2 separate regions of the Homo sapiens genome follow, and region 1 is linked to region 2. Evidence: promoter capture Hi-C in 16 types of primary human blood cells and fetal thymus (Javierre and others, 2016). All regions are on one chromosome and are shown on one strand. Each heading gives the region's core, a stretch centred on a gene start or on the middle of the fragment in contact. The rest is flanking DNA. Distances are from core to core; before and after follow the strand shown.

Region 1 (6,919 bases), core at 655-3,154, 250 kb before region 2:
TGAATTTGTGCCTCGGAGTAATTGTACCTACTGTCTGTCTCTCAGCCTTAAGCCCAGGCTTTTATACTCTGCTCTGTGACACTGGAGGCAGGAATCTGCAGACTGCATTTCCCAGACTTTTTTGCTATCTAGCTTCTGGTTAGGTTCTGCCGACTGGAGGCACTGGCAGGAAATCAGAGGGTGATAGGAGGGTAGAAGGATGCTCTTTCTGTTTTCAGTTCTGGTCGAAGTCCTTCCATCAGTAGCACTCAAGTAGGACTCCAGCTTATTTTAGCATTTCCAGCATTAGTTCCACAGTGGCTCCTTCAGAGGTACCAGTAGGAACTGCCACGTTCCCTCTTAGCACTCACCACTGGAGTCCAAGTAGCAATCACGTGACATCTCCTCAGAGGTTGCTGAGCCAGCTGTGCAGTGACACATTGGTGGTTGGAAAATCTGCTCTGTGGAGACCCTTCCCCCAAGAAATGGTGTCCTGGTAACACTATTTACTCTTTTTTAATCTTCCAGCCCTAAGAATCCTAGCTGCTTTCTATACTACAAATACCAGAGGTACCTGAACACCATTTTTTGTTTGTTTTTTTTTCTTTTTCTCTTTCAGCCCTCCAGACTCTGTATAACTGATCTCCTATATTAAATCACCTCTGTTTGAAACACTTGGCATGATTTCTGTTTCTGTTTTCCTGATGGGATCCTGACTGCAGTAAGAATGAGATGAGAGGCCAGGAACACGCCTGTAACCTCAGCACTTTGGGAGGCTGAGGCAGGTGGATCAGTTGAGGTCAGGAGTTTGAGACGAGCCTGGCCAACATGGTGAAACCCTATCTCTACTAAAAATACAAAAATTAGCCAGGTGTGGTGGCATGCACCTGTAGTCCCAGCTACTAGGGAGACAGGCAGGAGAATTGCTGGAACCCAGAAGGCGGAAGTTGCAGTGAGCCAAGATCGCGCCACTGCACTGTATCCAGCCTGGGCAACAGAGTGAGACTCCATCTCAAAAGAAAAAGAAAAAAAAAAAAGCATGAGATGAGAGACAGCAATGTTCTCTTTTCTTATCCAGTATCACACTTTGTGTACCTTTCATGGTTGAGACATCTCGTAACACTCATGTTTATATTTATATTTTCAAACAATATAAGCCTACTCACCAGCCAACTGGTTGTCAACCAAAACCAGTAGAATGTAAAGCTTCATAAAAATAAAGGATTTAATGATACACTGGCCTGTTCCAGCACTGAGAGAAAACTGGCCATGTTGGACTTAATGACCCATGGTTGTCAAATTGCCCCTTTCTAAGAAATTTCCAAGGATGATTTGGCCAGATAAGACTTTTGCCTTATATTGCTTTATAAACTGAAACTTTAATAACGATGTTTCCATAGCATACTCTTGCAAAGATGAGCAAGACCAGAGTTATTTCCTTCAAAAGCTCTCCAACTAGTAGAAGACATAAGGCATGTGCAAACAGAAAATGCATGGCAACATTTGATGGGAGCAAAACACACAAGGACCAACCCATTTGTCACCAGTTAGTAGTGAGAGTTTACGAAATAGGTTGGAAGAGGAGGAAAACATGATGCACTGGTTCTGCTACAGACTTCATTCACTGGCTTGCTCAGAGCAAGAAATGATCATTATTTCAATTTTAAAGACCTATTTGGAAGAAGATGCTTGCCTGATCATGAACCGTTGCTTAATATATAACTTGTCTTCTCCAGGTATATGTCAATGCCATTTTATTTTATTTTTCTCAATGGCCATGGAGAATACAGGTTTACTTCTTCAAGGACTCTCAATAATACACTCTTTAAAGGTTTAATACATTCGTGTTAATTTTTTGTTTTGTGCTGGGTTTCTTTTTCAGTGTGTTTATTTCCTTTCCTCTTCCTAGAAAACGTGATTATATTCCTTAGTTCCAAGTTCTATCAGCCCTAATTCTTCATGTCTCGCTTCTGGAGTTGATGAAATAATCACTCTCTTTTTAGCATAGAACACCAGCATAAGAAAGGCAAGAAAAGGGACCTTCCAGCTATAGTGCTGGGACCATCAGTCCATGGGAGCTTTTGAATCTCAGTATGTTTCATCTTACCAGGTCATCCACCTCTGAAGGTGGTGACTCACTAGGGTGAGAGATGACTTACTGATGAGGCTGTCTTCACAAGTTCTCATTTGAAGTGGCTTTTGAAGAATAAGGAGTAGATGTGGGAGGGGATTAGCAGTCAACTCTTTTCTTCCATTATTAAATATTTTGGAATTCAGCACTTTTTAAAATATATATTTGCCTAAAATTCTTAAGGATTCATTTAAAAGAGAGGAGCAAGAAGAAAAGAAAGAAGTTTGAAGCTGAAGAGAAAATACTTGTTGCCCTTTTTCCTCATGGTTTGAGCTTATTTGAACAGTTTTTGTCCTGCCATGTGACTTAGCTTAAGGAATTTTTTGCTGGTTTAGGACAGTAATGGGGATGTAGAACAAATTTTCCCTGAAAATGCCCCTCCTATTTCTTTGAACTATATCAAAGTACACTCCATCCATAATTCTATGCATTTATTTCCTCTTTTCATGGCAACTCGTTCCAGATGAATGTGACAACCTGATAGGTACCAATACAATGGAAGTAATAAGCTTATTTAAAACGGATTTTACTTTTCCCTAAAACAAAATATCTATGTAACTATAGCTTGCTAAGTAGAATGCAAAGCTTTTTTTTTTTTTGTAAAATGAAGGATCTAATGAGATACTGATATGTTTTGAATATTGGTCCATGAGATTGCTGGAAGAACTTGGCTGCCTTACAACATTACGTTATAGACAAACTTCAGCATGGAGTAATATAATTCATATACACCTTAATGGGAACCTCCTGGCTCTGACTCACAGCAAGAAATAAAGCCAAATACTCCAATCTGTGGTGCTTATTCAAGTTTCTGCATTTAAATCTGGAGTCATATTTAGTTTGTATTTATTTTCTGAAGTGAATGATATTGTGGTGGCCAGGATTCCAGGTATGATTAGGGGATGCCTCACCTTACAAAAAAGGTCAATATTAGATTTTCAGAAGGTAAGCGAGAAGAGAGACTTCATTTTCAGACAGAAAAGACATGGGCAAGAGCCCATAGACAGCAATCCAATGGGGGAGTTTAGCTTTATTTGAAAGTCATCTAAGCAGGGTGTGTGAAGGAGGCAAATGTGAGGTTATAAAAAAAAAAAGCAAAAAATAATTAAGAAGGCTAAATCTTAGCTTGCAGCACCTAGAATATAACTATCTAAAAGAATTGCAGATTTGCCATCAATTAAATAAAAATGTCAAGTCAGCTGTTGTTATCATTTGGGTTAGACAATTGGTTGATTAGTCATTTTGCTATCTTATAAAATGAAACTGGGAGAAAAAGTTTAATGTTAGTCATATCTATGTAATATGGTTAAATTGCTTTAGGACAATGAAATTAATATGCTTTACTATCCCCACAACTGATTGTGTTAAGGGTCGTTTGATCCACAGTGATGCAGCAAAATTCTGTTTTTGAGACAGGCCTCCATGGCTGGTTCAACTGTAGTCATTTTAGTTGTGAAAACACAGTTTCAGTCTCCATGACCTAACTAATACACATGGTTGAGGCAATTGTCCGAGTACTCTAATTCAGAGAAAACATTGGCTTTTCTGGAAATTACCTGGGTCATCTGACATGTGTTTTGCTTAAACTAGTTCAATAATTTTTCCAATTCTCTACTTTGGCCAGAAAGATACAATCTACAATGCCTGGACACAAAATATAAACTATATATGGGGAATTTTCTTAACTATAGGGCTTTAAATAGTTTTTTTTTTTTTTCTGAGCTGACAGGTGCAGTCTCACCTGAAAGTAGAAAAAAAATAGTTGATGTAGTTCTATGTTGCATTGAGGGTGCAGTGGGATGAAACAACAGAGATGTGTAGCTCCTCTGAATCAGGAACCAGAATGCCAGAACAGTAGCTTCGCAGTGAGACTTACAGATACGAGATCTTCCATACCAATGGTTTTCAAACGTTTCACTAACCATTCTATTCAATAATCAGGATTTCACTAATGTAGAAAAAAATCTATTTTCTAAACAGGGACATGTATATGATTAGAGTAGGAATTGCAAACTTAAATGCCGAGACAAGACGGCTAAATTAAATGACTAGGTGTAAGGTAATATGGAGTGGTGGAGACTATGGCAAACAGGAGAATTCATGTCCCATATAAAGGTGACAGCCATTACTCAGCTTCAGCCCAATTGATACCATGTGCAGATATGTCCCAGCCCTGCCAAATAATCCATTTTTTAACATGTCAGAAATCTAGATCTTTATATGAAATTTCCCAATGTTTAAATGCTGGCAGTCTCTTGGAGCTTGAGGCAGCCAATTAATAACAACATCCTCCTTCTCCTCTTTGTTCATTATGAATTAAGAAATGACACAGGAGTAAGACAGATGGAGATCAAGATGTCAGCATTATTACTGATAAAACTGATTGGAGAACAATGCTGCAATCTCTAGCCAAAATATATTTTCTAATTACCGCTCTCAGAAGAAATCTTTGGTATGCAGAACAGCCTTGTCAGGGGAGAAAGGGTAAAAAAAGAGAAATCATCGTGCTCTCAGATTGTTAATAACTTTACCCAATAAAGAAAGGACTAATGAATGTTGGAAATAACCTCCTACCCATCAGGGAGAGAGTTCAGAGAGCTCCTAGAGTAGAAATTCCCCCTACTTCAAACCACCACACTACTACATACACGAGAATAACGCAAAGATTTTGCAGGTTTGGTTACAGACCACTCCAATAAAACAAATATCATAATACAGCATATCACGTGAATTTTTTGATTTCCCAATGCTAATAAAAGTTATGCTTACACTATAATGTAGTCTATTAAGTATGCAATAGCATTATGTCCAAAAAGACAATGTACTTCATTAAAAAATACTTTATTGCTAAAAAATGCTAACGATCATCCAAGCCTTTACTGAGTCATAATCTTTTTCTGCTGGTGGAGGGTCTGGCCTGGATGTTGGCAGCTGCTGACTAATTAAGGTTGTTGTTGCTGAAGGTTGGGGTGACTGAGGCAATTACTTAGGATAACAATGAAGTTTGCTTCTTTTCATGAAAGTTTTCTCTGTAGTATGCAATACTATTTGACAGCATTTTGACCAGAGTAAACTTTCAAAATTGGAGTCAATTCTCTCAAATGCTGCCACTGCGTTATCAACTAAGTTCATGTAATATTCTAAATCATTTGTTGTCATTTCAACAATGCTCACAGCATCTTCACCAGGAGTAGATTCCATCTCAAAAAACCACTTTGCTCATCCATAAGAAACAACTCTCATTTGTTCAAGTTTCATCATGAGATTGCAGCAATTCAGTCACATCTTCAGGCTGCACTTCTAGTTCTCTTGCTATTTCCACCACGTTTGCAGTTACTTCCTCCACTGAAGTCTTGAACCCCTCAAAGTCATCATGAGTGTTGGAATAAATTTCTTCTAAATTCCTGTTAATGTTAATATTTTGACCTCCTTTCATGAATTATGAATGTTCTTAATGGCATCTAGAATGGTGAATCCTTTTCAGAGGTTTTCAATTGATTTTGTCCAGATTCATCAGAGGAATCACTATCTATGGCATTTTTAGCCCTACAAATTGTATTTCTTTCTTTTTTTTTTTTCTGAGATGGAGTCTCACTCTGTTGCCCAGGCTGGAGTGTAATGCCACAATCTCAGCTCACTGCAACCTCTGCCTCCTGGGTTCAAGTGATCCCCCTGCCTCAGCCTCCTGAGTAGCTGGGATTACAGGTGTATGTCACCACACCCAGCTGATTTTTGTATTTTTAGTAGAGATGGGGCTTCACCATGTTGTTCAGGCTGGTCTTGAACTCTTGACCTCGTGATCCACCTGCCTCAGCCTCCCAAAGTGCTGGGATTACAAGCTTGAGCCACTGTGCCTGGCCTACAAAATGTATTTCTTAGATAATAAGACTTGAAAGTCAAAATTATTCCTTGATCCATGGGCTGCAGAATGATGTTGTGATATCAGGCATGAAAATAACATTAATCACATTGTACATCTCCATCAGAATTCTTGGATGACTAGGTGCATTGTCAATGATCAGTAATACCTTGAAAGCAATTTTTTTTTTTTTTTGCAGCAGGTCTCAACAATGGGCTTAAAATATTCAGTAAACTGCTGGATGTGGTGGTGCATGTGTATAATCCCAGGTACTCTGGAGGCTGAGGCAGAAAAACCACTTGAGCCCAGGCATTCAAGACCAGTCTGGGCAACATAATGAGACCCTGTCTCAAAAAAAGAAGGAAAAAAATTCAGTAAATCATACTGGTAAACAGATGTACTTTCATCCAGGCTTTATTGTTCCATTTCTAGGGCTCAGACAGAGTAAATTTAGCATCATTCTTAAGGGCCTTAGGATTTTCAGAAAGGCAAATGAGCATTGGCTTCAACTTACGGTTACCACCTGCATTAGGCCCTGACAAAAGAGTATCCCGTCCATTGAAGTTTTGAAGCCAGGCATTGACTTTTACTTTCTGGCTATGAAAGTCCTGGATGGCATCTTATTCCAATAAAAGGCTGTTTCAGCTATTAATACATTGACAATCTGTTGTGTAGTATAGCCACCTTCATCAATTATCTTCTCTTCCTTTCCTTCAATTATCAGTTGTCCCTTTCACTTTAACACTTAGAGGCAATTGTAGGGTTATTAATTGGCCTTAATTTCAATTTTATTGTTTCTCGGGGAATAGGAAGGCCCAAGGAGAGGAAGAGAGATGGGAGAACAGCCAGTTGGCTGGGCAGAGAGTACACACATTTATCAATTAAGTTTGCTGTCTTATATAGGTGTAGTTTGCAGCATCTCGAAACAATTGCAATAGTAACATTAAAGA
Region 2 (6,315 bases), core at 387-2,886:
GGATAAAAGGATGTTTAGAGTTCTTAAATACCGAAGTCACCCTGAAGACCGGAGCATAGACCCTCGCCAGCCACCAGGGGGCGATAACAACAGCATCTGTACAGAAAGCCGTTCCCAAGAATAACAGCAGTAAATTGCACCTAATGTGTTTATGAATGATGAAGGGACTCGAGTGTGTGTGTTTGAGTGAGTGTGCGTATGTGTGTGTTTGTGTGTACGCGCGCGCAAGTGGGTGCCCAAAGCTAAGACTTTGAAAATCTGCTAAGTATAATACAATAAAATCTACAACTCTACTATATATTCACAGGATGTGGTCAAGTAGTTGAAAGTTTCCTTGAAGGAAAATGAGGTAGAAGAAATCAGAATAGTATTCTTATGAAAGAAAAGAGAAGCGCTCTCAGGAGTATAGTTGTCACTATGTGAGTGTGTGTGCGAGCATGCATGTACACGTGTGTGTGATTGCCGGTGTATAAATGGGTGTGTGTGAGCCTGAGTATGTGAGAGTGTGTGCGTGGCTGTGAATACGTAGGCACCAGTGTGTGTGTATATATATGCAGGGCTCATTCAGGCCTTCTCAGTGTGAGGGGACCTCAAGGAAATCTGGGCAATACTTCCTCCAGTTCCTGCCCTTTCCTTTCAAACAAACAAACAAAATCATTCCTACAAGTATTTATGGAGCCTCTAACGCACACGCCCCTCCCCACTGGCATCTGGAAAAGCTCAGACCTAGCCAATTTAAAGCGGGCGCTGGAAGAAAGAAGGCGCTGGGGACAGAAGGGATGCCTCGTCTGCGAATGACTTTTGCAAAAACACGTTCTCTTCTGTGATGCTCCAAACAACCCAGGGAGGTGAGGCCAGGTAGGACTGTGGCCCCGGATTTGAGAAAACGAAGGCTCAGAGATGACACGATTGGCCCAGAGTCACCCAGTCAGGAAGCAGAAACCCGAGGATGGAACAAGGCATTGTCAATCCAGGGGTCCAAGTCGCTGCCATCACTACTTTTACCAGTCCACCAAGCGCTGGGTCTGGGCAAAGCAGGGCAAGTTTCCGGGTAAGGTTTGCCAGCAGTGACCTCAACAACATGGACCACGGTGTGTGTGTGTGTGTAGCTGTGGAGTACATTGGTGTCAACCAAGGCTCTTCAGGCAAAATTGTGGATCTCTGCCATGAGTACTAGGTGCGGTAGGGAAGCGGCTTCGTGGGCGACACTGCCATGGTTTGGCGTCCCTAGCAGCTGTGCGACCTCCAGCAAGTCGCTTCACTTCTCTGAGCTGTTTTCAGACGACCCCTTGGAAGATCGTGGACTTAAGTAAAGAATATGAGTAGAGTGCTCAGCTCAGTGCAAAAATTAAAAAAAAAAAAGTGTCAGGAGCCTTATCCGTCCTTGGATCTTAACAGTGAATGAGTTTCAGTGTTTCTTTCCAGGGGCCCTGCTGGCCGAGCCCCTTTCCTTCCCTGGTTCCTTCTCTCTCCCTCCTCTACTGCCTCCTCCCTCCAGGCTCTCGGTCGCTCCAGCAAAGTTCCCAACTTAGTCGACATGACGCGCGGCGCAGCCAATGGGAGGCGGAGTTGGCGTTTCTTGGTCGGGGGGGGGCCGGAGGGGTGGGCCCCGCGTCTCCGGTGTCTGCCGTGCTCACTGAATGGAGAGAGCGAGCGCCGGCCAGCTCACCCGGCCGCCCCGTGCCCCAGCCGCAGCCGCCGCGCTCCCCAGCCCAGCCCCAAGCCGGACCTCCCCGGGCGCCACGCCCCATTGCGCTCGCCCCAGGTCCCCAACCCGGCCCGCGGGCCAGCGGGGCCAGGGGGCGCTCCGCACCTGGGCACTCCCAGCGATGCGCAGCGGGGCAGCGCCGGCCCCGCCGATGGAGCTGCTGTTGCTGCCGCCGCCGCCGCCCGGAGCGCCCCGCTCCGCCCGCGCCCCGTGCGCCTGAGCACCGAGCTCGCCCCTCCTCCGCGCTAACTCCGCCGCCCGCTCCCCAGGCCGCCCGCGCTCCCCGCGCGCCTCCTCGGGCTCCACGCGTCTTGCCCCGCAGAGGCAGCCTCCTCCAGGAGCGGGGCCCTGCACACCATGGCCCCCGGGTGGGCAGGGGTCGGCGCCGCCGTGCGCGCCCGCCTGGCGCTGGCCTTGGCGCTGGCGAGCGTCCTGAGTGGGCCTCCAGCCGTCGCCTGCCCCACCAAGTGTACCTGCTCCGCTGCCAGCGTGGACTGCCACGGGCTGGGCCTCCGCGCGGTTCCTCGGGGCATCCCCCGCAACGCTGAGCGCCTGTGAGTACCCCTGCCCCACCCCACGCGGGCCACCCACCTGGGTCCCACCGAGGGGGCCCCAGGCGCCAGATCCGTCCTTTCCCCTCGGCCTCCCTGGATGCAGTCTCTATTCTCATCCCTTCCTGGATACGATCCCTCACTCTCCGAGCTGGGGGTCTGTAGGCTTGGTCAGATCTGGAAAGAGAGGTCTCGAAACCCCCAGCGATGGGCAAAGAGCAGTGCCTCTCCAGGGGTGAGGGTTCCAGACGCAGGGCCCGCTGACAGCTTCCAAGGAGTAGCTGAGGAGAGGCGAGGGGAGGCAAGAGCACTGCAGCCTCAAGGTCTTAGGGTGAGGGTCAGGGGTCTGCGCTCGTTAAAAAGGGGGGCGGGCGAAGGAGAAAGCTATAGGATGATGGGCCGTCAAGGCGCGGAGGCGGGAGAGAGGGCCCGAGACTGTTGACCTGCTTGGAGATCAGAATGGGCCAGCCGCTCTCTGGCTGCCCTTGCAAGGAAAGTTGAGAGTGTGGGTGAAGGTTTAACTTCTGAGGAACTGGACAGATTCAGAGTGGGTGCTCGCAAAACCCGCTCTGCCTGGAGCGCAGTCTGGGAGATGCCAAGTTGCAGCCCCGGGTGAATTTTTTATGGCTCGGTTATAAATGCCTCCCCGAACGAAGGGGCCGGAGAATGGAAATGCTGACAGCCCTTCAAATGAGACCGAGCGTTATAATCTTACAAACCGCACTCAGCCTCAGATCCTGGGCTTGGCAGCGAATGGAGAGGCGCTTGGAGAATGGGGTGGATTGACCCTAGTTTTAGCCCCAATTGTGCAACCAAATATTTACTTTTCATATGTCAACGTTTTGGAAACATTTATCATTTTGATCCTCGGACCAGATTCAAAACTTGGACTCCGGGGTGGGCTCCTCTTAGTCCGCAGTTGGGGTGGGGTAAGGGAGTGGGGGAGAAACGCTGGAGTGGGTGGGAAGCCTTACTGGGAACCCAGCCGAGAAGTGGGTGAGGGTTTGCTCTAGTGTGGTAGATTCCCTCCGTGTCTTGCTCTCCCTCTTCTCCCCTTCCTCATGTGCCTTAGGGGTAGGCGCCTGGATCTTCCACTCTGCTTTCTTGACTTCAGGCTGGAAGAGAGTAGTGATGACAAGCATTGTCCTAGAGTGTGTTATTCCTGCTAGTCACCTCCTATCACCCCACCTCCTCTTCTCTTCCACTTCTTTGTGCATCTCTGGGTGGAGACTCAGCAGAACTGTCTTCCTTATTCCTGGTGCTCTCTTTTTCCTTTGGCTCAGTACTTTTTTGTTTTTCCACAAGTGCAGTGATTGTTTTGTTGGGTTGAACCACAGAATCCTAAAGGGTGAGAGCCGAATCTTTATTAACACATGTCGAAAACCAGGCTTGGAAGTGTAAAATGACTTGCCCAAGAAAACACAGCAAGTTGACGGCAATAAAGGGGCTAGAATCCAGGTTTTCACACCTTAATTCAGACATTAAGTTAGTCCATAGGAGTGAAAAACTTGTTTTAGTGGTATTTTTAGATACCTATAACTTGTAAACTAAGTTCCCCTCCTCGTCACACCAGTGCTAGCCACATGAGTTAGTGAAATAATAATTATAGCTAATGTTTGATAAATGCTTTTCATGCCTTGATTTGTGTATATGTATTATCTCATTGAATCACTCCAACAGTCCTGTTAGTTACATAGGCAATGCTTATTACTCCCTTTCACAGTTAAGCCATCTTGTCATTTACTCAAGGTCGTGCAGCTAGTGAAGTGTTTGGATCCAAGCCTGACTGGTTCCTAAGCCCACAACCGTTATCACTCTCCTGGTCATCCTTGGAACAAGGGTCAGTTTGGGCCACGATCTATAAACAGACAGTCTTGGGAGGGTTCTGGCTGGGCTTGGATCTTAGAATAGGCTGCTGTTGCTTCTGCTTCTGGTATACCCTGCAAATGTTCAGCTCACTTTGATGTTAGGTCTGCTGCTTGGGGTCTCGCAACTACATCTTCCGCATCTTCAAAATCGTGCTCCATGTTTGGGAAACCAAGAAGAGTAAGTCCCTCTCCTCCTGGTGTGTAGGAAGTTTTCCAGAGCTGCAGGAACCGCACCCATGCCAGCATGCCACCGAGTCATCTTCCTTAGGGGATCTGTGCAGCTCAGGGCAACCCATCAGCTCTAGAACTGGAGAAACAGGACAGAGACTGGAGTCCTGGTCATTCCCAGAGGCCCCCTGCTGCAGTCGTTAATAGGCAGTGGCAGAGCAGGAGCTTCTTTGATGTCTCTGGTCTCTTCTGCCTCAGTTGTGGTCACTGGTGCCACTTTGGCCAGGGTGCATGGGGGTGCCGCGATGGTATCTCATTCTAGTCTCCTTCCTCCCTGGGAATGGGGGACAGTCTGTAGGAGCAAGCTGGGTCAGGTTCACTGCAGGGTTTCAGGGCAACCCACCAACAGTCCTTCACCACCAAAGTCCTGCACCACACTCTCTCTCAGCCAACTCAAATGTAACATTTCAATTCTGAAAACTCTTGGGGGATATTTGGCATTTTTACTCTCTGCCAAGGATTTCTTCAGAGGAATCACTCATTTATTCCTGCCTTCATTCATTCAACAAACATTACTTGAAGCCGGGCGCAGTGGCTCATGCCTGTTATCCCAGCACTTTGGGAGGCTGAGGTGAGAGGATCGCTTGAGCCTAGGAGTTTGAGAACAAACATGACTTGAACCTCTACTGCATTCCAGAAACTGTATATAGAACCATTGCAAATACAGAAGAAAACCAGCACTTCAATGTAAAGAATGTAAGCAAAAGATAGAAGGAAACTTGCTTTGGTGAGCCTTTTGAACTTCCCAGGGTTCATGTTGCCATGGGGCACGTTTTGTCAGCACTGTCATCAGATGCTCAGGACCTTCCTAAAATCCAGTTTTCTGATCTCAAAGGTTTAAATTGTGTTTTAAAACAAAGAAACTGCATTTTCTCCGTTCTCCATTCTTGGTACTCTGCCTCCCAAAAAGGCTTTGATGAAGGGATTTGTGTGTGTGTGTGTCTGTGTATATTGCTTCTCTGGATGTTTTTGACTTCTGAAACCTTGTGTTATGACATTAAGGAAAACCTGAGTGGGGATAATGTGCTCACCATTTGGACTTTGCTTCAGGCCTGGAATGGGGCCTCAATTGTTCATAATTAAGCCAGAATCAGAATTGGGGGGTCTGTGTTCCAAGATCTTCCCTATAATGTCAGAACATCACGCAGAAAAAGAAACTCTGTCTTTTATAAACTACTGACAATTTTTCCCCCTCCATGAGGAGGTGACACCCACAAGAAAGCTAAATAAATGCAGAGAAGAATTCAGTGTAATTTATTATCCGTGCAGCAAAGATAGAGGACGAGAGGAGAGGAAGTGGATGGCGGTGCCTGAAACCAAACATTTACCATGGAGCACAGAGTAAACAGATGTTGCACTTACCCTTCTGACTACAAAAGGAGCCCACAGATGTAATTCTTCTCCAACCACAATCTCAGCCTGGAAAAAGAGGAGGCAGATGAAAATGAACTCTCACACGGGGCCACTTCTCCCCATCTTGCCGTCCTTGTCTAGAGGCAGGCAGAGGCCCACTTCTCACTGCAGTGAGGGGTGGCCTGAACGGTGGAGTGGGGGCAAGAGTGGACATCTTTGGTTTTTCACTTGGCTCTGGAACATGCTGGAGACTGCTGTATTTAAATAAACATTTCCTGTTTGCGAAGGAGAACGGGCGAAAGGCTGAAACGTGAGAATGTGGTAACTTAATTTTCTCCATCACTCCAAATGACGGCTAGCTTTGCCGGTGGTTGGGCCCAATAAAAACTGACACCATGTCATAGGCTTTCCCTCACTTGACCACAGAGGTCCTGAGGTCAAGTGAGAGACTTTCCAAGATGCTCAACAGCCAAGTCCTCTGTCCAGCCCTCAGGGCCAGCTTAGAGGACAGGAACAAGCTAGTGAATCATGGGGTCTCTCTGGGTCAACCACGGTGATGTGGCCTTTTAGGGAAACACAGTGCCCTCCTGGACAGACTAAGGAGCAG

What was found. The method cuts DNA at HindIII sites, captures the fragments that hold promoters and counts their contacts. A CHiCAGO score of 5 or more calls a contact.
Region 1: a fragment that was not itself captured here is called in contact with the fragment with the promoter of SLIT3 in region 2 in 3 of 17 cell types (M0 macrophages, M1 macrophages and M2 macrophages); the score reaches 7.1 in M0 macrophages.

Annotation. Positions count from the first base shown.
Region 1 is chr5:169,541,143-169,548,061 of GRCh38, reverse strand. All of the region lies in intron 2 of LOC105377714 (a long non-coding RNA gene), which reads left to right. All of the region lies in intron 3 of LOC105377715 (a long non-coding RNA gene), which reads right to left. Among named protein-coding and RNA genes, the nearest start is that of SPDL1, 39 kb to the left of the region's middle. The HindIII fragment of the contact is 1,434 bases long and covers 1,188-2,621 here.
Region 2 is chr5:169,296,460-169,302,774 of GRCh38, reverse strand. It overlaps SLIT3 (slit guidance ligand 3), which reads left to right and starts at 1,636. Exons shown (of 36, transcript NM_003062.4): 1 at 1,636-2,262. The coding sequence starts at 2,066. The HindIII fragment of the contact is 7,800 bases long and covers 1-6,315 here.